Regions from separate parts of the Homo sapiens genome. Here regions 1, 2, 3, 4, 5 and 7 are each linked to region 6. The links are contacts of gene promoters, found by promoter capture Hi-C in blood cells and fetal thymus (Javierre and others, 2016). All regions are on one chromosome and are shown on one strand. Each heading gives the region's core, a stretch centred on a gene start or on the middle of the fragment in contact. The rest is flanking DNA. Distances are from core to core; before and after follow the strand shown.

Region 1 (2,700 bases), core at 32-2,531, 390 kb after region 6:
AAGCTATTCTAGCACCCATCACACTGTGCTGTAAGTGATGACTTCATTGTCTGACTCCTGCTAGACTATAGGTCATTCATAGCTGGATTGGTATCTTATTGCTAAACACAATGCTTGGCACATATGTAATATTCAGTGAAAGTTTGTGGAGTTAAACTACACAGACAGTGATGGTTAGAGGCTTTGGTTAAGAGTATGATAGTTAAATTGATAGACCAGGAATAATGTTACAACTGTAACATGTTGGTCTAGTTCATCATTAATATTTGTTGAATGGCTTCAGTGTGCTTTGTCCTAAGTTCTTAGCAAAGTGACTGATGAGTTTCAGAAAAATGAAGACTCAGATATATAAAGTGGAAGATGGTACCTCTCATAGGTTTTCTGAGTAACTGAGAAAAAGCATTTGTTTATTTTGTTAGTATTTTATTTTTAAAGTTTAATTAAGTTAAATTTTATATTTTATTTTAATTACCTGTCACTGACTTTAAGTCCAGTATTTTGCTAGTATTTTTAAACCACTGTTTCTGCTCTTCTTTCCTACCCACATACCTTTTTGTTTTCCTCTCTCCTAATCTGTCTTTACTTGGTAGTACATTTGGCCTGGTAGATTCAGATGGACCTTGCTATGCAGTGATGGTGTACAATATAGTGCAGAGCTGGGGAGTGCTCATTGGAGACTCTGTAGCCATTCCTGAGCCCAACCTGCGGCTTCACCGAATTCAGCACAAAGGAAAGGTGAGCAATGGCTAGGATTCTCTTACAACTCGTAGGCTCTAAAAGTAGAACCAAGCTTATCTTTTTATAAAAGATATAGAAATAATTATATGTAAGTATGTGTGTAGGCTATGTGTATATATATTTGTGTGTATATGTTTTATTTATATATATATATGTATTTTTTTACTAAAAAGGTAAACTGGTAAGCAGAAAAATAAAAAAATGCAGTGAAATATTATCACTCAGGTATTACTGCCTTTTAACTGTTACTGTTAACAGTTTGGTGTATATACCTGAAGTCTTTTCTTTTCACAAATATATACACATATATCTATATTTTAAATCATGAGTGGGATATTATATGCAAATGTTTGTGAATGTTTCCTATGTTTTTACATATTTCACCACATTGAGTAGACACGGGGTGATGAAGATGGTAATGATAGTTAACATTTATTTAACACTTAATTGAGTGCTAGACACTGTGCTAAGAGTTTTTATTACCTGCCTTGCCCCATTCAATTCTTAAAAAAACCTTATGAATGTAGATATTTAACTACTGTTTAACCATTTAGATCAGAGGTTGGCAAAGCCCATTGACCAAATCTGGCTCACTGCTTGTGTTTATTAATAATGGTTTCTAGGCTGGGCATGGTGGCTCATGCGTAAAATCCCAGCACTTTGGAAGGCCAAGGTGGGAGGATCACTTGAGCCCAGGAGTTTAAGACCAGCCTGGGCTATATAGTGAGACCCCGTCTCTACAAAAAAATGTTAAAAAACTTAGCCAGGTATGGTAGCACATGCCTGTAGTCCCAGCTACTAAGGAGGCTGAAGTGAGAGAACCACTTTATCTCAGGAGTTTGAGGCTGCAGTAAGCCATTATTGTCCCATTGCACGCCAGCCCGGGTGATAGAGAAAGTCTGCCTCAAAAAAAAAAGAAAAACAAGAGTGTGGTTTCTGTGTTGTTAAGTGAAAAAAATGGACAGAAGCGTAATATTTTGTGATATGTGAAAATTACAGGAAATTCAGATTTCAGTGTCCACAAATAAAGCTTTATTGGAACACAGCCACACTCATTTGCTTACTATTGTCTGTGGCTGTTTTTGCACTATAGTGTCAGAGGTGACTTGTTCTGTAACAGAGACCATATGACCTACAAAGCCTAAAATATTTACTATCTGTCCCTTTGCAGAAATACTTTGATGACCTCCGATCTAAATTAGTACTTTTATAATAGAAAAAAAATTAGAAACACAGTGAGGATTTTTGTATCTTTGCTTGTATCTATGATTAGTTCCTTAAATGAATTTCTAATGTAGACTCCTGGGTCCAAAGGGTATGCAGAATTCTGAGGCTTTTGATACATATTGCCAAATAATTCTTTGGAAAATTGTACTAGTTAGTTGTCACTACCAACAGTGGATGTAAATAAGTGTTTCTCTGTAGTTTTTTTCTCAACTCTGGTTGGAAACCTTTGAAAAGTTATTTTCTAATTTTACATGGAAAATATAGCATGAATATTAATTTATATTTCTTGTATAAATTGCCATTTTTTGTGTCACTTGTTGATATTTCTGTGAAGACTTAAAAAAAATTGGTTTATGAGAACTTTTAAATTTACTTTACTTGGACTTAAAAGAGCCTGCCTCTCATTGCCATATTTTTTGGATGAAGACTATTTAATATGTTTTACAACTTAAAATACACTTAAACTGATACAGTGAGCTGATACCTTTTTTGTTATTAGGAAAACGGCTACATTCTGTTTCATGTTCTATTTCCTCCTCTTGATATAAAAGAGAAGTAACTTTAATTTGTATTTGGTGGATTAAATTAGGACCTTATAAACATTTGGACTGAGATTTTCTCAGGATTCCCACTGGCTCTGGCCGGCTGCTATGTGTATCTAGTTAATTATCAGGAAACACCGTGGGAAAAGGCAGATTCTATGAGAGTTGGTTGCATTCTTTTGTTAGGCAATGC
Region 2 (2,700 bases), core at 140-2,639, 330 kb after region 6:
ACTGTTTCCGGACAGTTTCAGCATCCTGGTATACCTCAGTTTATCTAAATTAAATTTTTTATGGTGGTATATATCCAGAAGTGAAAACAAATTTAAATGTTAATTGTTTAATCAGTTTGATTTTTTATCACTCCTCTCTTGGTCCATAACAATAAACTTCTGGTGCCAGCCGCAGTGGCTCACGCTTGTAATCCCAGCACTTTGGGAGGCCAAGACGGGCGGATCATGATGTCAGGAGATCGAGACCATCCTGGCTAACATGGTGAAACCCCGTCTCTACTAAAAATACAAAAAAAAATTAGCCGGGCGTGGTGGCGGGCGCCTGTAGTCCCAGCTACTCCGGAGGCTGAGGCAGGAGAATGGCGTGAACCCAGAGGCGGAGCGTGCAGTGAGCCGAGATCGCGCCACTGCACTCCAGCCTGGGCGACAGAGCGAGACTCCGTATCAAAAAAAAACAAAAACAAAAAAACGAAAAAAACAATAAACGTCTGGAAATAGGGCCTAAGATTTTATAAGAAACTTAGTAGGCCGGGCGTGATGGCTCACGCCTGTAATCCCAGCACTTTGGGAAGCTGAGGCGGGTAGATCACCCAAGGTCACGAGTTCAAGACCAGACTGGCCAACATGATGAAACCCTGTCTCTACTAAAAATACAAAAAAAATTAGCTGGGCATAGTGGCGGGCACCTGTAATCCCAGCTACCTGAGAGGCTGAGGCAGAAGAATCGCTTGAACCCGGGAGCTGGAGGTTGCAGCGAGCTGAGACTGAGCCATTGCACTCCAACCTGGGCAACAAGAATCAAACTCCAGCTCAAAAAAAAAAAAAAGAACCTTAGTAAATAACAGAGCCAAGACTAGAAAGGCACATTCTATCCTCATTCTTACTGTCCCTTTGGGATTACAAAGATCAGTGAGAGCACCCCTGAGGTGAGAAGTAGAAAGGATTCAAGATATCCTGGCCTGTCCCAGTCCAGGAATGATCTAAGCTATTCTGCTTTACCCTGAGTAAGAAGAAACAGGAGTAGGTGTGGTGCCTCATGCTTGTAATCTCAGGACTTTGGGAGGCCAAGACAAGAGGACTGCTTGAGCCCAGGAATTCGAGACCAGCCTGGGCAACATAGTGAAACCTCATCTTTACAAAAAAAAAAGAAAAAAAATCAGCTGGGCAGAGTGGCACGTGCCTGTAGTTCCTGATACTGAGGAGGCTGAGGTGGGAGGATCACTTGAGCCTGAGGATCTTGAGGCTGCAGTGAGCCATGATTGTGCCACCCAGCCTGGGCAACAGAGCACAGTTTTGCCTCTAAAAAATAAAATAAAAAAAGAAGATGTGTTTCTTTCGAAAAGTATAGTGAGAGTTACCTGAGTATTGGTGGCATAGTCCATCTGTAGCATATCATATTTTCCAGGCACCTTCTCAAACTTTTCTCGATCTTCCCAATTGTTTTTCGTTTTGTCAAGGAATCTGTAGAGTCCAAGGTGTAAGAAAACTTTACAAATAAAGGTCTACTATGAAGATGGACTTACAAGACAGAAAATCTCCAAAGAATTTATTTTCCAGCACTGAGCTCCTTTACACATCAACTTTCCATAAATCAAAATTAGTCTAATTCTAAATGAGGACACTAAATGGACAAAAAAGCTCTGGAGACAAATGGAATTTAAAAAATGGGAAAAACAATGCTTGTCCTTCCCAAACACCACAAAAGCCATTGAGATTTCAAACAAAAGATATCCATCTAATCTCTTTCCCTGAAAGAAACATGTTCTCCAATTCTCCAGAAAGTTCTTCATCTATATCATAAAGTTTTAAAAATTCTAACTGAATATTCTCTTTTTTTCTTTCCTTTTTTTTGGGGGAGAGTCAGGGGTCTCGCTTTGTTGCCCAGGCTGGTCTCAAACTCCTAGCTTCAAGCAATCCTCCTGCCTCAACCTCCCAAAGTGCTGGGATTACAGGCATCACCGTGCTCAGCCCCTAGTTGAATATTATCTATCCCAGGATAGTCTCCACTTATCCCAAATTTCCTAAATTTGTCAGTCATGTGTTAAATATATTAGATTCTTCTGTTTTTAGTGACTTTCAAGGTATTAGTTTGATTTAATCACTAAGGATGCAGTTTGGTGTTTCAACCACAGAATGTCAGGGTGAAAAGACATTAACATTTAGGCCAAATCACACCTATAAAACGAAAAGTTTTTTATAAGCCACACACTTATAAAATTCTTAGAGAAGGCAGGGCACGGTGGCTCACGCCTGTAATCCCGCACTTTGGGAGGCTGAGGCAGGCGGATCACCTGAGGTCAGGGGTTCGAGACCAGCCTGGCCAACATGGCGAAACCCCATCTCTATTAAAAATACAAAAATTAGCTGGGCGTGGTGGTGGGCGCCTGTAATCCCAGCTACTAGGGAGGCTGAGGCAGGAGAATCACTTAAACCCAGGAGGTGGAGGTTGCAGTGAGCTCAGATCATGCCATTGCACTCCAGCCTGGGCAACAAGAGTGAAACTGTCTAAAAAAAAATTTTTTAGAGAATATACATCTAAGAAGAGGAGGGTATATTTTTTTGTAGTCACTTTTCAGCACTCACTTCTTCTGAAAGATTTCCTTGGCCTTGTTGAGATTGCCTGAACAAGCCACCAGGCTGTGCTGTCCCATTTTCCCAACTGCAAAGGAAATGCCACACATAAGATAGTTCCCTAAGAGT
Region 3 (2,700 bases), core at 116-2,615, 310 kb before region 6:
CCGTAGATGGAGGAAACGCAGACGGAGTAAGCACAGGTAAAAGATCTCCCCAGGAGCTGACACGGGCACAACGATACAAATCCCTGTGGAAACAGATGCTGGCGTGGGCTGCAGCTTCCTGCCACATCCCACTGATTTTGGTCACACCCCCCATACCTGCCGTGCCGGCGGGCTGTGAGCACAGCATGCTGCATGTGCCCATCTGGACAGCACAAGTGACAATGCACATGGCGAGGCCGTTTAAGGACAGGCTGAGTGATACGGGGCCAGCGATGAGCCTCCTCTGGAGACCCCCGAGCAAGGATCACCATAGAGAACTTTTCTTCCTTTGGTTTCTTGTTCTAAGATAAGGAACATAGAGACTGTTTAGAAGAAAAAGATATGGGAAAAAAGTTTGTACAGTCCCTTCTTCCCCATTCCTGCAGTCCTTTTTTACAATGTATAAATCATATACATGTAGGCCCTAAAGTCTCCAGGCTATTCTACAAATTATCCAACTCCTCCTAACTCTGATTCTTTTTCTTCCTGTTTTTCCAGGATGTTTGCTTCCTGCTGCAATATCCCCAGGTACCTACCCAGCTGAAGGGGATGGGATGGTACGCCTGTGAGAAGCTACAGGCCAGGTTGGTCAACTGGGGACAAGGGAGTTCATGGGGACACTGTGAACACATAAAAAAATGAGGTAAGACAAAAGAGCCATCAATCACAAAACTTAAAAACTGAGAATAATAGAGTCAAAAGGGGCCAGGGAGAAGGGAGGACAGGAGCAGTGGGTAGGAAGAGCCAGGGGAATCATTAGGTAGGAACTGGATAGGAACACAAAGTAGTGGAGAGTGGCTTAGCTTTACCATCTTACATTTCCCGGCCACGCCTAAGTTCAGATCCGTGTGGTGGGACAGGCAGAAGTAATACTCACCGGGGCAAAGACAAAACCAGGTCGAGGGTCCAAAGGTGACTTCTCTTTTCCCTGAAATCAAAGGAAATAAAAGAAATAAAGCTGGGCCAAGGGTCTATTTTCATAATTCAATCTCTGCACTCAGTAAACTGAGGACTCCTTTAACACTCAATTCTAATAACGATTGACTATGTCCTTTGAATTAAGCTGGCTGCATCTTTAATACTCCAAACAAAGAACTTTCTCTTTGCTGCAGGAGAAAGGCAAGAACTTGGCACATAGTACGGTGCTCTCCCTTGTCAGCAACCTCCACTCTCAAAAAAATCCCACTCCAGGACAATTAAATTTATGATTATACACTGGCTCATACTCTCCCCCAGTGACAAGGTTCTTAGCTCAGCAATGCCCTAGATTAGGAGTCCGCAAAGTTTCTTTTAAAGGGCCAGAGAGTAGGCAAAATCTATCTCTGTCCCAACTACTCAACTCTGCTGTTTGTAGTGTGAAAGCAGTCACAGACAACAGAGGCACAAATAAGCATGGCTTATATAAAAACAGGTGGCAGGTCGGATTTGATCCACAGGCTCTCATTTGCCAACCACTGCTCTGTATCATAATGACTTCATACGCCCAGTTTCCTGAGAGCCACCCTTGTCAATACATGACAGTCTCTTTCGTTTTCAAGAGAGTAACAGTAATTGGTGCCATATGGGTGGGGGAGTGAGGGAAGAAGAAGCCTTACCTTAAGGACCAGATCCCTGGCATCCATGAGAAGGCTGTGCCCAGCTTTTGTTCCATTCTCCACCAGTACCTGTTCACAAAAGGGGAAAATATGCAGAAGACTTGAATTACACGAAAGTATAAATGTCAGTAGCTGTGTAAGAGCAATCATAGAGGGAGAAGGAGTCCTAAAAAGAAATAGGCATTACATAATCAGGATGGAGACCCTCAAAGAGGGATAAAGAAACCCATGAAGGAGAAAAATGGTGAAGAATAAAGACAATGAGAGGAGCAAAGGCATGAAATCCATGAAGCTGCTTCAAGACTTAAGGAGAACAAGGAATTTTAACTCACCAGGAAATGACCTGTCTTACGCCATAAGGTTTGAACTACCTCAGTGCGGTCAGCCTTGCTGGGCAGTTCACTTAAGGAAAAAGCTGACACTACTACATCAAACTGCACCTGAGGACCAAGACAAGGAACATGACAGACTCAACATCTCTACATCCCAAGAATACAACAAAGTCCTAGCCGCTAAATTTCTTTTATCTTCTAACACTCAGTGCTGGGCTGCAAAGCTCAAGCCATAGTTTTCCATCTGCCACATTCCACATTTAGAATATTCTAAACACTGCCACTTGCCTTGGGTGATACAGGTAGAAACTGTCTGAAAAAGACACCTGGAATATAAGGCTCCCCAGATTCTGAACCACCTGTGGAGAAAAGAAGAGGCAACTGTGAGTGTGTAGGAAGTTAGGTATAAACTGAAGAGATATCCAGATAAGAAACATGGCCCCAAGAATAGGTAAAGTGTATATCAAAAAGGGCAGGGATGAGCCAGGTATGGCGGTGCGTGCCTGTAATCCCAGCTACCCTAGAGGCTGAAGTGGGAGGATGGCTTGAGGCCAGGAGTTTGAGACCAGCCTGGGTAACATATGGAGACCCTACCTCTAATTAAAAAAAAAAAAAAAAGGGCAGGGAGAATATTAGGCCTCCTGTCCTTTGATTCTTACCCAACCCATCCTCAGTCCAGCAGAAACCTCTAATACCACCCTTTGCTTGACTATAACTTTAAAAGTAAACCAGAT
Region 4 (2,700 bases), core at 72-2,571, 370 kb before region 6:
ATGTTTTGCTCTCTTCAGCTTTGCTTCTGTTTCCCTCTTCCCTGCAAGTCCTCCCTCAAATATTATCCATCCTTTAGAACTCATCTTGACCATATGAGTTTGCTCAGGATCACATTTACGAACCTTGCCGTACAAATCCTAACCTCCTTTAGCATTAACTGTTTCATAGTATCACTCATTTGGGTTCTAAATCGTGTACTACCTTGTTTTGCTATTTAACTCTTTCATCCAGTAAGAGCATCCAGTCTTCCCAACTAGACGGTAAACTCGTGGGACAGGAATCAGGTCCTTCCGTGCTTCTCTGTCTTCATAGTGCCAGGCACATGGCTAGCTCACAGGAGCACTCAGTAACCGTGCATTGAACTCAGTCATCACTCTGATCCTCTCAGTCTTCTTACTATTTATAACACAAGGAGTTTCAGTTGAATAATGTCTAAAATGCCCCCTGGTTCTGACACTTGTGTGACACAAGAAAAAACATCAAAGTGCTAGTAAGTAGCCAGCACCTTACTAGTATGAAGGAGAGGCCTAATAGTAGACTCTGAAGGTGCCTTGAAAGAAGGGGAGCAGAGAATAAGCAACTATCTCCCAAAGACCCATTCTTTCAGGATACCCCAGGAGGGCTGAGCGAGGGTGCCAGAGAAGTTTGCCTGGTTTGCTGGCCTGAAGGACAGCAGTACCACGAGGGTCGTCTTTGAACTACAAGTGCCACCCCCATAGGGTTTTTCAAGCTTCAACCTTCAAACAGCCTCCTGGTGGTGACAGACCTGTGGTCTGGGCCCTGGTTTATGGCTCTGAGAAGCAGAGCTCCATCACATGGAATCCAGTGGCCACATTCCTTTTGGGAAGCCCTCCTCTGTTTCCAGTGGCTAACCCTGTCTCCTGCCAGGTCCATTTTTCTTTTCTATGTAGTTCTTTGAGGCCTTCCTATGGTGCCCATTTGCACTATGAGCTTGTCTCTGCGGGAGGACTGTCTCCCTTTGTTCCTCACTCCTGGATTCATCTTCATGAGGGAGAGGATGTAGTCTTCAACCCAACCAGAGCTGAGGCATATGGCTCCCTGGATACGCCAGTTCCCCTCATAGGCCGGCTGCCCTCCTGAGACCTCTGACTTACCACAACAAGGCTGCGTGCAGCCTTCAGCCCTGCTAGGAATGATAGGGGTCATAACGATAAAAACAATCATAGTTAACATTTACTGAGGCTTTTCTATGTTCCAGTCACTGTTCCAAGTGCTCTATGTCTATTTTCTCATTTTTCAGCATGAAAAGGACCTTTCCAATGCCCTAGCCCCATGACTACCCTATCTTCCTCAACCAGTTCTTGAAAAGAAACACTGGTCAGAGACAGAAATCCACAAAGAGCAAGTTAAGGAAAACATTAGAGCCAGTGTACTGCTACCCCAGGTGGAACACAGATGTGTGCAGAGGGTACACAAAGTCACAAGATAAATGTGTTCTTTACAATTTTACTAAAACCATCTTTTTAGGGGATGGGGAGTAATTTAAGGCATTATTTTTACAGAAAATAACTTTGTATGATAGAAAAATTCAAATGAGTTACATTAAATTTTTTTAGCATTTTCACTTTGAAATAATTTAAAACGTATATAAAAGTTTCAGAAAGCATACACAGAGCTCCCCTATATGCTTCACCCAGTTCCCCAATTATTAACATTTCTGAGCTATTTCAGAACAAGTTACAGACATGATGCTCATTACCCCTTAATACTTCAGTGACTATTTCCTAATTACAAGTACTCTCGTGTGCATAACCACAGTACAGCCACCAAAAAGGGGAAATTGACATTGATCCATTATTATTATTACCACAAATGAAATTTAAAGATAGCATATAAAACACTCATATGCACGGCTATTTTATAAATATTAGTTAAGTGAAAGAAGCTTCAGAGAAAGCCCAAGCTCATTGGGCACTACTTTAGGTGTTTTAGTTCATCTTCCTCTGTGGTTACTAGCACTTCAGGGGAAATTCTGGGAAGCATTGCTCTGCAGGTTCTAGTTGACCATGAAGATCCTGTTCTGGATATGCCAAATTCAAGGGTAAAAAGTGGTAACCCTTACCAAAGATAAATGCTTGGGATATCTCAGGCCCACCCGGAGCTCCACCAAACAGGATCTCTGTAATGTTTTCACCCTGGTCCGGAGTAGCAGATGGGAGGTCCAGGCCCTTTTTCTTGTTGCATATCCTTATTTATGTTTCCAGCAGCCAATGGCACGGCCAGGGACATGCTTGACTAGTTTGCCATCAATTCCTCATGTACTGTTTTTTTCCCATCTCAATGATACAATATGAGCATTCAGGTGAAGGTCAGAAATGCAACGTGTCAGGATTACGGGCACTTAATACTCTTTTGGATGAACATGCTTTTGTCTCAAATCCGGGGGTCTGCCCATTTGCAGATTGATTTGCCAGTCCATGTATGATTTGATCTTGAAAGATATCTGGGCTGGGCACAGTGGCTCACCTGTAATCCCAACACTTTGGGAGGCCAAGGCAGGCAGAACATGAGGTCAGGAGTTCAAGAGCAGCCTGACCAACATGGTGAAACCCAGTCTTTACTAAAAATACAAAAATTAGCCGGGCATGGTGGTGCATACCTGTAATCTCAGCTACTCAGGAGGCTGAGGTAGGTGAATCGCTTGAACCTGGGAGGCCAAAAAGCTCAACAAGGTTGCA
Region 5 (2,700 bases), core at 190-2,689, 330 kb before region 6:
GGTCTTGTCCTCATCAACATTGATCCCAATGCCAAGGGTTGGATGGATTGGGCAGCCCACAAGGTTTGGAGGGGCCTGTGTGCTGAGACCTACGGTTGGGGATCCCCTCGTATGGATCCAGTTAGGCTCTGGTAGATAGCCTAACTGGATGGACTCTGAACTTCAAGGAGGGAGTAAAGGGGCAGGAAAGTGAAGCTGTCACTTTGCCTGAGTCTCTTATAATATCCTGAACTTTCTTTTTCTTTTTCTTTTTTTTTTTTTTTTTGAGATGGTGTCTCACTCTGTTGCCAAGGCTGGAGTGCAGTGGCTTGATCTTGGCTCACTGCAACCTCTGCTTCCTGGGTTCAAGTGATTCTCCTGCCTCAGCCTCCCAAGTAGCTGGGATTACAGGCACCCGCCACCACGCCTGGCTAATATTTGTATTATTAGTAGAGATGGGGTTTCACCATCTTGGCCAGGGTGGTCTTGAACTCCTGACCTCGTGATCCACCCGCCTCGGCCTCCCAAAGTGCTGGGATTACAGACGTGAGCCACTGTGCCTGGCCAATACCCTGAACTTTCTCACCTGCCTTCTCCTCATAGCTAACAGGCCTCACCTCTTCCATTCCGGAGATGATCCTTGGACATCTTTTCAGCCAGGTAAGTGGGTGTAGGAGATGTAGAAGAGTCGACGGGAGCAGCAGGGAACTTGAATGCTTGGGCTAACTTCCTTAGCTGGGACAGGATTTGGGGAAGGAAGAAGGCTTACCTCTTTTCCTCCAGTAATTGTTGTTTTCTCTTTCCATCCCTAATTTTTCTCCTTGTTCTCTCCTTCAGGAAGAGCTCTCTGGAAATTCTGAGTTGATACAAAAGTACAGAAATATCATTACACATGCACCCAACCTGGATAACATTGAATTGTACTGGAACAGCTACAACAAGTGGGTGGGCTGTGTGTGTATGCATGTGAGAGAAATGCAGAAGCAGTAATTGGGCGTCATGGGGGAGGCACAGAGGAGGAGAGGGAAGTCTGGGTAGTGTGCAATGTGCAAGGAATGCAGCATTTAGTGTGCAATGGGGGCAGCTTCAGGACAGAGTCAGTGGGAAGGATTGCAAGGGGCTGTCCCCCTTCTCTTGTTTACCTCCTTTGGATTATTGGACTCCCAGAAGTAAGATGATCTTGTGTCCTGTGTCCTTCCTCCCCTTTTGTTGCCCTCTGACCAGGGATCTAGGGCACAAGTGACTATAGGGGCTGTGCTTGGGGCCTGCCTGCCCCTTTCTCCTTTGGTTTCCACCTTTAATAACCAAGATTTGACCGTAATTTTTAGACAAAGATAGTTCCATCATGGGAGAGATAGCTTATATCTGGTTAGATAGCATTGCCCACCTAAAATTCCTACTCTTTTAACCCCTTTCTAGCCGCCGAGACCTGAACTTTGAGCGTGGAGGTGATATCACCCTCAGGTAAGACTTTAAGAGATAATGCATTGCCTGTCTCCCTGGATCTTCCCTAGGAGCTTGTGTCCCTTAGAAGAAGGAGAATCTTTTGCCAGGGAACTTCCTTGTCATGTCCCACCCCATCCTATTTGGTAAATCACTTCCCTCTAGGTCTTCCCCCTTTGAATCCTCTTGGTGGCATCAGCAGGGAGACACAGAAGTGTCTTTCCTCTTTGGAGCCAGATATTTTTCCAGCTGCACTCCTAGGCAGAGGCCAGTGAGGGAGTGCCAGGGGCTCACTGCCTTCTCCCCAACACTGTGTCTTTAGGTGTCCTGTGATGCTGGTGGTAGGAGACCAAGCACCTCATGAAGATGCAGTGGTTAGTAGGGAATTTTGGGGTGAGTGAGGGAGGAGGGTTGGGGTCCTAAAGTGGTGGTCAGAAGAGTATCTTGCCAAGGGGATGTCCTGTTTGGCACAGGGAGATCAACTTTGGGGCACTAAGAATTTGATTCCTGGTAAGGAGGAACTGGGTAGGGAGCTGATAGAAAAGGGACTGGGGTCTGGGTTCCTGGGTCCCTTACGGGGGAGGCGCCACAGTGGGCGTGACCTCATTCATTCAGCCTCCTGCTTACTCCAGGTGGAATGTAACTCAAAACTGGACCCCACCCAGACCTCGTTCCTCAAGGTCAGTAACCTGTTCCTGGGCCCCCGTCCACAGTCATATATCCTCTCTACATGCAGCTGCTAAGCCTCCAGGGCCCGGCATGGGAGCAAATGGGGTGAACGAAGAACAAAACAAAGGGGCTAGAGTGAAGAAGCTAGGGAAGAGAGACCCTTTCCACCTCTCTGCATGGCTCATTTATGTGTGTTTCACTTTTTCTGGGTGGTGCTCTCCTGAACAGATGGCTGACTCCGGAGGTCAGCCCCAGCTGACTCAGGTGAGTGCCGCTGCCGTCCATGGGATGGGGAAGGGACATAGGATACCGGTGGCACTGGGCTCTGCCCTTTGCCACACACCCGGCCCCACAGTGCCGCAGCCTCAGGCTCCAGCTCTTCCTCTAACCTCATCTCACCGTCTCCCTCGCCTCTTCTTACTTCCGCAGCCAGGCAAGCTGACCGAGGCCTTCAAGTACTTCCTGCAAGGCATGGGCTACAGTGAGTATCGGGACAAGAGCTTGCTGCACTAGAGGAGAGATAGGCACTGACGGGGTGGAACCGTTTTAGGTGAATGCCTGGACTCACCGCTATCTGCCCAATCGAGCTCGTTGATCCCCTGGCTTAGT
Region 6 (2,700 bases), core at 143-2,642:
TCTCCTGTCTCAGCCTCCCGAGTAGCTGGGGTTACAGGTGCTCACCACCGTGCCCGGCTAATTTTTGTATTTTTAGTAGAGACGAGGTTTCACCATCTTGGCCAGGCTGGTCTCGAACTCCTGATCTTGTGATGCACCCACCTCGGCCTCCCAAAGTGCTGGGATTACAGGCATGAGCCACCGTGCCGGGCCCACACAACTTTTATATTCCATACTAGTACTTTCTAGACAATCAGAGCTAACTTTAAAGGGGCCACTGAAAGTTGCTGTTCGAAGGAAACCTACATTGACTATTACCATAAATTCAAAAATTATTTTACTCTGCTTGTCATCAGTAAAAGAATTGCTTGAATTGAAGCGTATGTAATAAACCTATCCTCTTGCAAAACTTGTTAGTGGCTCTGTGGTTAAGTAAGTCTTGAATACCTGAGGCTGCTTCTGGGAAGGTGGTCCTGTGCCACAGATAATGATGTCCCTTGGGTTTCTACTGATTACATTATGACTTGATTATAAGATTTTTACTGTCACGAGGGAGGGTCTTGGCTCATCTGAGATTTCCCTAGCCCCCTGAGTGGTGCTGAAATTGTTTTAATAAAGATGTTGCGCTTTACTCATGTGCTGCTATTAGCATTTGACGTGCTGTCTCAGAGCGAGAAAACGGAGGATCCCAACCTTCCAGTAGGAAGGCTTAGAGAAGAGGCTGTTGGCAAGTGTCTCTAAGAATTGCACAACACTGGCTGAGGGTGGGTTAAGGGTGAGGAGGCAGAGGAGAGTAAACAGAAAACACCGATCCCCAAATGTTAGTTACGCTTGCAAAAAACTAAGGCCTGCTTCAAAAAGCTGGTGATTAGCCTGAATAACTAGCAAAGCTTTCTTAGTTGTGGGCAAGTGCAGGCCTCCTAGGGCTTCCCTTAGGTTCGGCGATTCTGTGGTCCCCCTCCAAGCCTACTAATCAATAGAAGCTGGCATCTGTGCCCAGCTGCGCAAAGTAAACCTGAGTGGGAATGTAAAGTCGTTAACTCATACAAATACGGGACTTTCACGTCCCTCCCCATTCCTCCCTCTCCAGCCCCGTCCCGCAAACTCCTCCCCAAGGAGTCCCAAGCTGCCTCTACTAGGAAAGGACTCCCCGGCCTAAACGCCCCTTATGAAGCTACCAGAGAGGAGGAGGAGGAGCAGGAGTGTGAACCTACCTCGGCCTCAGAACAAGTCCGCAGAAACGGGCAGGACAATGGAAAGAAGTTTTGTTTCTCACCCGCTTCTTCCTCCCTAGTACGATGATGGGGAGCCGGTAGAAAACGCAAAGATGTTCTTTTGAATCCTGCTTTGCATCTAGGTGGGGTTGGCGTCCTTGTGTGAGTGTGTGTACACGGACGGAGATGGGGGCGTGGTGAGGTGTGGAGGGTCGGCGTGCCAGCCTCTGCGTAGTTGGGACCGCGCCCCGCTTCTCCGAGGAGGCCCCTCCCGCCTGGATCCGCCCTTGGAGCTGGCGCCGCAGCAGCACCCGCCCCAGGGGCCGCAGGGGCAGCCCAGGCAAAGAACGAGCCTGGGATCCGCGCTCCTTCCTCAGCTGGACCCCAACGGGCAGCAGCCGCGAGAGCACTGCCTCCACGGAGAGCAGATGGCGGGAAACTGGCTTCTGCTCCCAATTGCCAGGCGGCCCTTCAGAGACTACCCCTGGCTGAGCGTCCAGGAACCCATGAAACTTGGTCTTGACACTGGTCGACAGCACCATCTGCCACGTACTTATTCGCTGCTGCTTTCTTTGGCAGGACAGCCCATCGCGAGACAGTTTGTGTTTCAAATTTAACGGAGACTTTTTTTCAGTAGTTGACAAAAGGGGGTGGAAAAACAGTAGCCACGAGGGCTCGTCCGGGATTTGAACCCGGGACCTCTCGCACCCAAAGCGAGAATCATACCCCTAGACCAACGAGCCACTGTAGCTGAGTGGTGCTTCCTATCACTCTGAATTTCTCTTTTCCGCCTGCTGTTCTGAAGGTTTTTTGTTTTGTTTCTTTTCCTCTGTTGTGACATTTCCCTTAGGCCTTATTTAGTTATTCCTTCCATCTTCACCAAGTTTCAAGTGTGGCTTATTCTCTGGCTTATTCTCCTCGATCCAGATGCAGGATGGGGTGAAGGAAGGCAGCTTTTTAGACTTTAGGTCACATGCTTGTGTCTCACTGAGCCCGGGGAGCGATTTAAGCCCGCTAGGGCCTGGAGGGAACCTGGAGGGGGCTGAAATAGAGATCGAGGGCCAGAGCTGAGCTCGGTTGCAAGGCTGTAGGGTACTGAGCCCCAGGACAGACGCGCGATACGTATATATCTGCCGGCCTTTGGACTTAACGTAGAAGCCAAAATATAACACACTTCGGTAAGACAACAGTGCCTTCCCCCAACGGTGGGACGATTCGGGTCTACTATCTTTCAGAAAGGTAACCAACTTTTCAAGACGCGATTAACGCAGCCCACCTCGCGGCTAAGCTGTTTCCTTCGGACAAGGGTGAGAGACAGAAACAGATTTGATCACGTCAAGATACAGAGATTTTTTGCACAAACGAAGAGCAACCGTAAACCCCAAAACAGCAGCGTCTCCTTCGAGCCGGAATCGAACCAGCGACCTAAGGATGACCACACATTAAGTACTACAGTCCTCCGCTCTACCAGCTGAGCTATCGAAGGAAGCACGGAAACAACTCTCCT
Region 7 (2,700 bases), core at 29-2,528, 390 kb before region 6:
AGTGTAAAAGCATAGTATCTTGCCCAGATACATGCACAGTAAGAATGGTCTGGCAGCTAAGGTTTGTTGGCAGCCTTCAGCTGTGTCTCCACCTCCCACTTCCACCTGCCTCCGCACACCCATACTTCGTACTTGCTGCTGGGAGTGGAGCGCAGCCTCATCAGGATGGCCCCCCCATCCCTCTGCAGTGCCGTCAGCCGGGGATCTGCCAGCACCTTCTGCAGTGGCTTGGGCATTCCCACTGCCTCCTGGGGATAGGGAGGAGTTGCCAGTTGGGGTTCCACCAGAGAGTCTCCACCCCAGCCCCATCCCAATCCCATCCCCCCACTGTCCCATCTCATTTCATACCTCTTCCTCTGGCTCTGCTGCTCCCTCCAGCTCCTCAATGGCCTGCCGTACCGAGCCCAGCACACCTTGGCACAGGCGACATAGCCTTACCACTTCCTGAAACCCACATGCAGGGATGGAGTTGAGGATCAGAGTTTAAGAAGGAACTTAAGCCCTAGGGTTGGGGTGCGGTAGCCCCAGAGACTTTTATGGAGGCAATGCTGAATTCAGTTCCTGACTTTGTTGCTAACTAATTGTATGAGGTTGGGCAGGTTCAGAAACCTTCCTGAACTTCAGTTCCTCAACTGTAAAGTCAGGATAAGAAAGGCTTCTGTGATTTTTAAGGAGATGATGCCAGTTTAGCAACTAACGTGGGCCTGGCACATTGTACAGCTTGGTAACTGTGACCTTCCTGTCTGTCTTCAGTGGGGCTTCCCCCTGTCACACCCCCTCTCTCTGCCTATTCATGTCAATTTCCCCTTTGACACTAAAGGCGAAGCTTAGAGACCATCTACAGACCCCTCTTTCATACTCAGCTCAGATCATGTTTATTTCTCTCTTCTTGAATACTCACAACACTTATATTCATAGAATTACATGAGATAAGTGCTGGAAGGACCTTTAGCAATTATATTGTGATTGTTATACTGCGCTGATGAGGATCCTGAGGCCTGGATGTTGGTGCAAGGAGCGGATACAGAAAGGGCACTATTTCTGCAAGTGAGGTAAAGTAATTTGGAACAAGAACCAGCCTTTTGACTCTCAGTGCTTTCCAGAAACCCAATGACACTATCTTGCACTCTTCTCTACTTGTTTCATGATTTATCTCCCACCAAAAATCATACACTACTTAATGTCATATTAAGAATTTATTTGGCTGGGCATAGTCACTCATGCCTGTAATCTTAGCACTTCGGGAGGCTGAGACGGGTGGATCACTGGAGTCCAGGAGTTTGAGACCAGCCTGGGCAACATGGCAAAACCCCGTCTCTACAAAAAAAAAAAAAAAAAAAATACAAAAACTAGGTGGGTGTGGTGGCACATGCCTGTAGCCACAGCTACTCAAGAGGTTGACATGGGAGGATCGCCTGAGTCCAGAGGGTCGAGGCTGCAGTAAGCTGTGATCGAAGCATTGCACTCCAGCCTGGGTGACAGAGTGAGACTGTCTAAAAATAATAATTATAATAATTTATCATACTCCTCCTATCTCCCCAGTAGAACATGGCACAGTGCACATGTTTTCCTCATGATTTGGGAGCCATAAATACTTGTTGAATTGAATGGAATGGAAACCACTTTTTTGCAACCTCATGGTATGTCCTGGACATGGCCTCTCTCCTAGAATGTCTTCAGCTGGGTTATTCCTGGCTCCCAGCATGCTAGGTGGTAGAGGGGAAGCTTACCTGGTGTATCTCTACCCAGTGACTGGGAGAGGGGTCCCTGTGACCTCCTAACTCCCACTGCAGCTCCTCTGGCTTGGCCACTCTTTTCAGATCATTCTCTGACAGCACCTCAGCACCCTGTAGAGGGTAAGGCAGGGGGTTTCTTCCTGGGCACCCAAGGACTCAGAAACCAGCCTGGGGCTCCAGCCAGCCTCTTCTCCTCTCCCCACTACTGATGGGAAACTAGATGGGAATGAAGGGCTCAAACCTGAAATCCACAGAGTTCAGTTGGAAGGTCATCATGAATGAGAATCAGCAGCCGCTGAACAAGGGGAGGATCTCCTGAGTCCTAAGGGCAGAAAAGAATAACCCTAAACTGGGCAATCGGGTGTCCTGGACTGGCCACTGGTGAAGAGTTAGGATCCAGGGGAACTGCCTGTTTGAGGGGTGGTTACCTGAAGTTGGCTCAAGGCAGGAATGAGTGCTGGAGGCAGTGGAGGTGCCTGACGAAGGTCCAGCAGGACGGACAGCCCCAGTGTCTGTAGATCAGGCCTGCGGGAGCAGGAAGAGCCAAGGAGGCTGCTGTGTGTGTGTTTTGGGGGATAGCAGATAAGGCAAGGCAGACATACGGGGTCTGTTTTTAGTTAATAGTCCTGAGGAGAAATTAGTTGCCGGTACATTTGGGAAGAAATGGGCAAAGGGCCAAATTCTGGGGTGTGTGTACAAGAGGAAGTCACCTAGCAGTCAGGGGTCTATATTCATATGGCTACTAGGTCAAGGGATTAAGGTCTGGAAAATTAAGAATTCTGTTCTGAAATGGCGTGCATTCAATATCAGCCTGTAGTATGGTGCCTAATAGGTACTCAGTGCTCAATAAATGTTTGTTGAATCAGTGAACCAATGTCCTGATGATCTTGGTAGGGTTGGAAGAGAGTGAAAGTCAACAGTGTTGCTTTTGAAGATCAGTGAAGATATGAAGCTGGAGGTCAGG

The links. Contacts are between HindIII fragments. The CHiCAGO score rates a contact against its expected background, and 5 or more counts as called.
Region 1: a contact is called between a fragment that was not itself captured here and the fragment with the promoter of RNASE4 in region 6, in 4 of 17 cell types (fetal thymus, activated CD4 T cells, megakaryocytes and 1 more). The highest score is 8.7, in fetal thymus.
Region 2: a fragment that was not itself captured here is called in contact with the fragment with the promoter of RNASE4 in region 6 in 17 of 17 cell types (naive CD8 T cells, naive CD4 T cells, total CD8 T cells and 14 more); the score reaches 21.7 in naive CD8 T cells.
Region 3: a fragment that was not itself captured here is called in contact with the fragment with the promoter of RNASE4 in region 6 in 6 of 17 cell types (fetal thymus, total CD4 T cells, monocytes and 3 more); the score reaches 10.4 in fetal thymus.
Region 4: a contact is called between a fragment that was not itself captured here and the fragment with the promoter of RNASE4 in region 6, in 4 of 17 cell types (monocytes, M2 macrophages, M0 macrophages and 1 more). The highest score is 7.7, in monocytes.
Region 5: a contact is called between a fragment that was not itself captured here and the fragment with the promoter of RNASE4 in region 6, in 5 of 17 cell types (monocytes, fetal thymus, M1 macrophages and 2 more). The highest score is 7.7, in monocytes.
Region 7: a fragment that was not itself captured here is called in contact with the fragment with the promoter of RNASE4 in region 6 in 2 of 17 cell types (monocytes and M0 macrophages); the score reaches 7.6 in monocytes.

The regions. Positions count from the first base shown.
Region 1 is chr14:20,290,018-20,292,717 of GRCh38, reverse strand. It overlaps TTC5 (tetratricopeptide repeat domain 5), which reads left to right. Exons shown (of 10, transcript NM_138376.3): 9 at 591-735. Among named protein-coding and RNA genes, the nearest start is that of TTC5, 15 kb to the left of the region's middle. The HindIII fragment of the contact is 978 bases long and covers 793-1,770 here.
Region 2 is chr14:20,351,006-20,353,705 of GRCh38, reverse strand. PARP2 (poly(ADP-ribose) polymerase 2) reads right to left here. Exons shown (of 16, transcript NM_001042618.2): 6 at 2,584-2,659; 7 at 1,359-1,461. Among named protein-coding and RNA genes, the nearest start is that of PARP2, 8.7 kb to the right of the region's middle. The HindIII fragment of the contact is 4,027 bases long and covers 1-2,700 here.
Region 3 is chr14:20,994,168-20,996,867 of GRCh38, reverse strand. METTL17 (methyltransferase like 17) reads right to left here. Exons shown (of 14, transcript NM_022734.3): 8 at 2,255-2,325; 9 at 1,967-2,074; 10 at 1,635-1,703; 11 at 917-967; 12 at 576-659; 13 at 157-341; 14 at 1-83. LOC101929718 (a long non-coding RNA gene) reads left to right here. Exons shown (of 4, transcript NR_110139.1): 3 at 1-36; 4 at 538-1,031. Among named protein-coding and RNA genes, the nearest start is that of SLC39A2, 3.8 kb to the left of the region's middle. RefSeq lists an enhancer at 1-739. The HindIII fragment of the contact is 5,148 bases long and covers 1-2,700 here.
Region 4 is chr14:21,049,841-21,052,540 of GRCh38, reverse strand. It overlaps a transcript of NDRG2 not described here. Among named protein-coding and RNA genes, the nearest start is that of RNASE8, 6.6 kb to the left of the region's middle. The HindIII fragment of the contact is 1,176 bases long and covers 734-1,909 here.
Region 5 is chr14:21,017,859-21,020,558 of GRCh38, reverse strand. NDRG2 (NDRG family member 2) reads left to right here. Exons shown (of 16, transcript NM_001320329.2): 8 at 1-63; 9 at 583-639; 10 at 817-920; 11 at 1,399-1,443; 12 at 1,745-1,796; 13 at 2,055-2,102; 14 at 2,320-2,355; 15 at 2,521-2,572. Among named protein-coding and RNA genes, the nearest start is that of MIR6717, 4.2 kb to the left of the region's middle. RefSeq lists an enhancer at 1-1,044. The HindIII fragment of the contact is 4,424 bases long and covers 1-2,700 here.
Region 6 is chr14:20,683,252-20,685,951 of GRCh38, reverse strand. It overlaps RNASE4 (ribonuclease A family member 4), which reads right to left and starts at 1,392. Exons shown (of 2, transcript NM_002937.5): 1 at 1,194-1,392. TRY-GTA5-5 (tRNA-Tyr (anticodon GTA) 5-5) reads right to left here and starts at 2,679; the gene lies at 2,591-2,679. TRP-TGG3-2 (tRNA-Pro (anticodon TGG) 3-2) reads right to left here and starts at 1,936; the gene lies at 1,865-1,936. It also overlaps a transcript of ANG not described here. RefSeq lists enhancers at 1,101-1,240, 2,041-2,170, 2,311-2,500 and silencers at 1,471-1,590, 1,861-1,910. The HindIII fragment of the contact is 4,966 bases long and covers 872-2,700 here.
Region 7 is chr14:21,075,921-21,078,620 of GRCh38, reverse strand. ARHGEF40 (Rho guanine nucleotide exchange factor 40) reads right to left here. Exons shown (of 24, transcript NM_018071.5): 6 at 2,165-2,261; 7 at 1,978-2,058; 8 at 1,731-1,847; 9 at 349-444; 10 at 133-248. Among named protein-coding and RNA genes, the nearest start is that of ARHGEF40, 7.0 kb to the right of the region's middle. The HindIII fragment of the contact is 899 bases long and covers 829-1,727 here.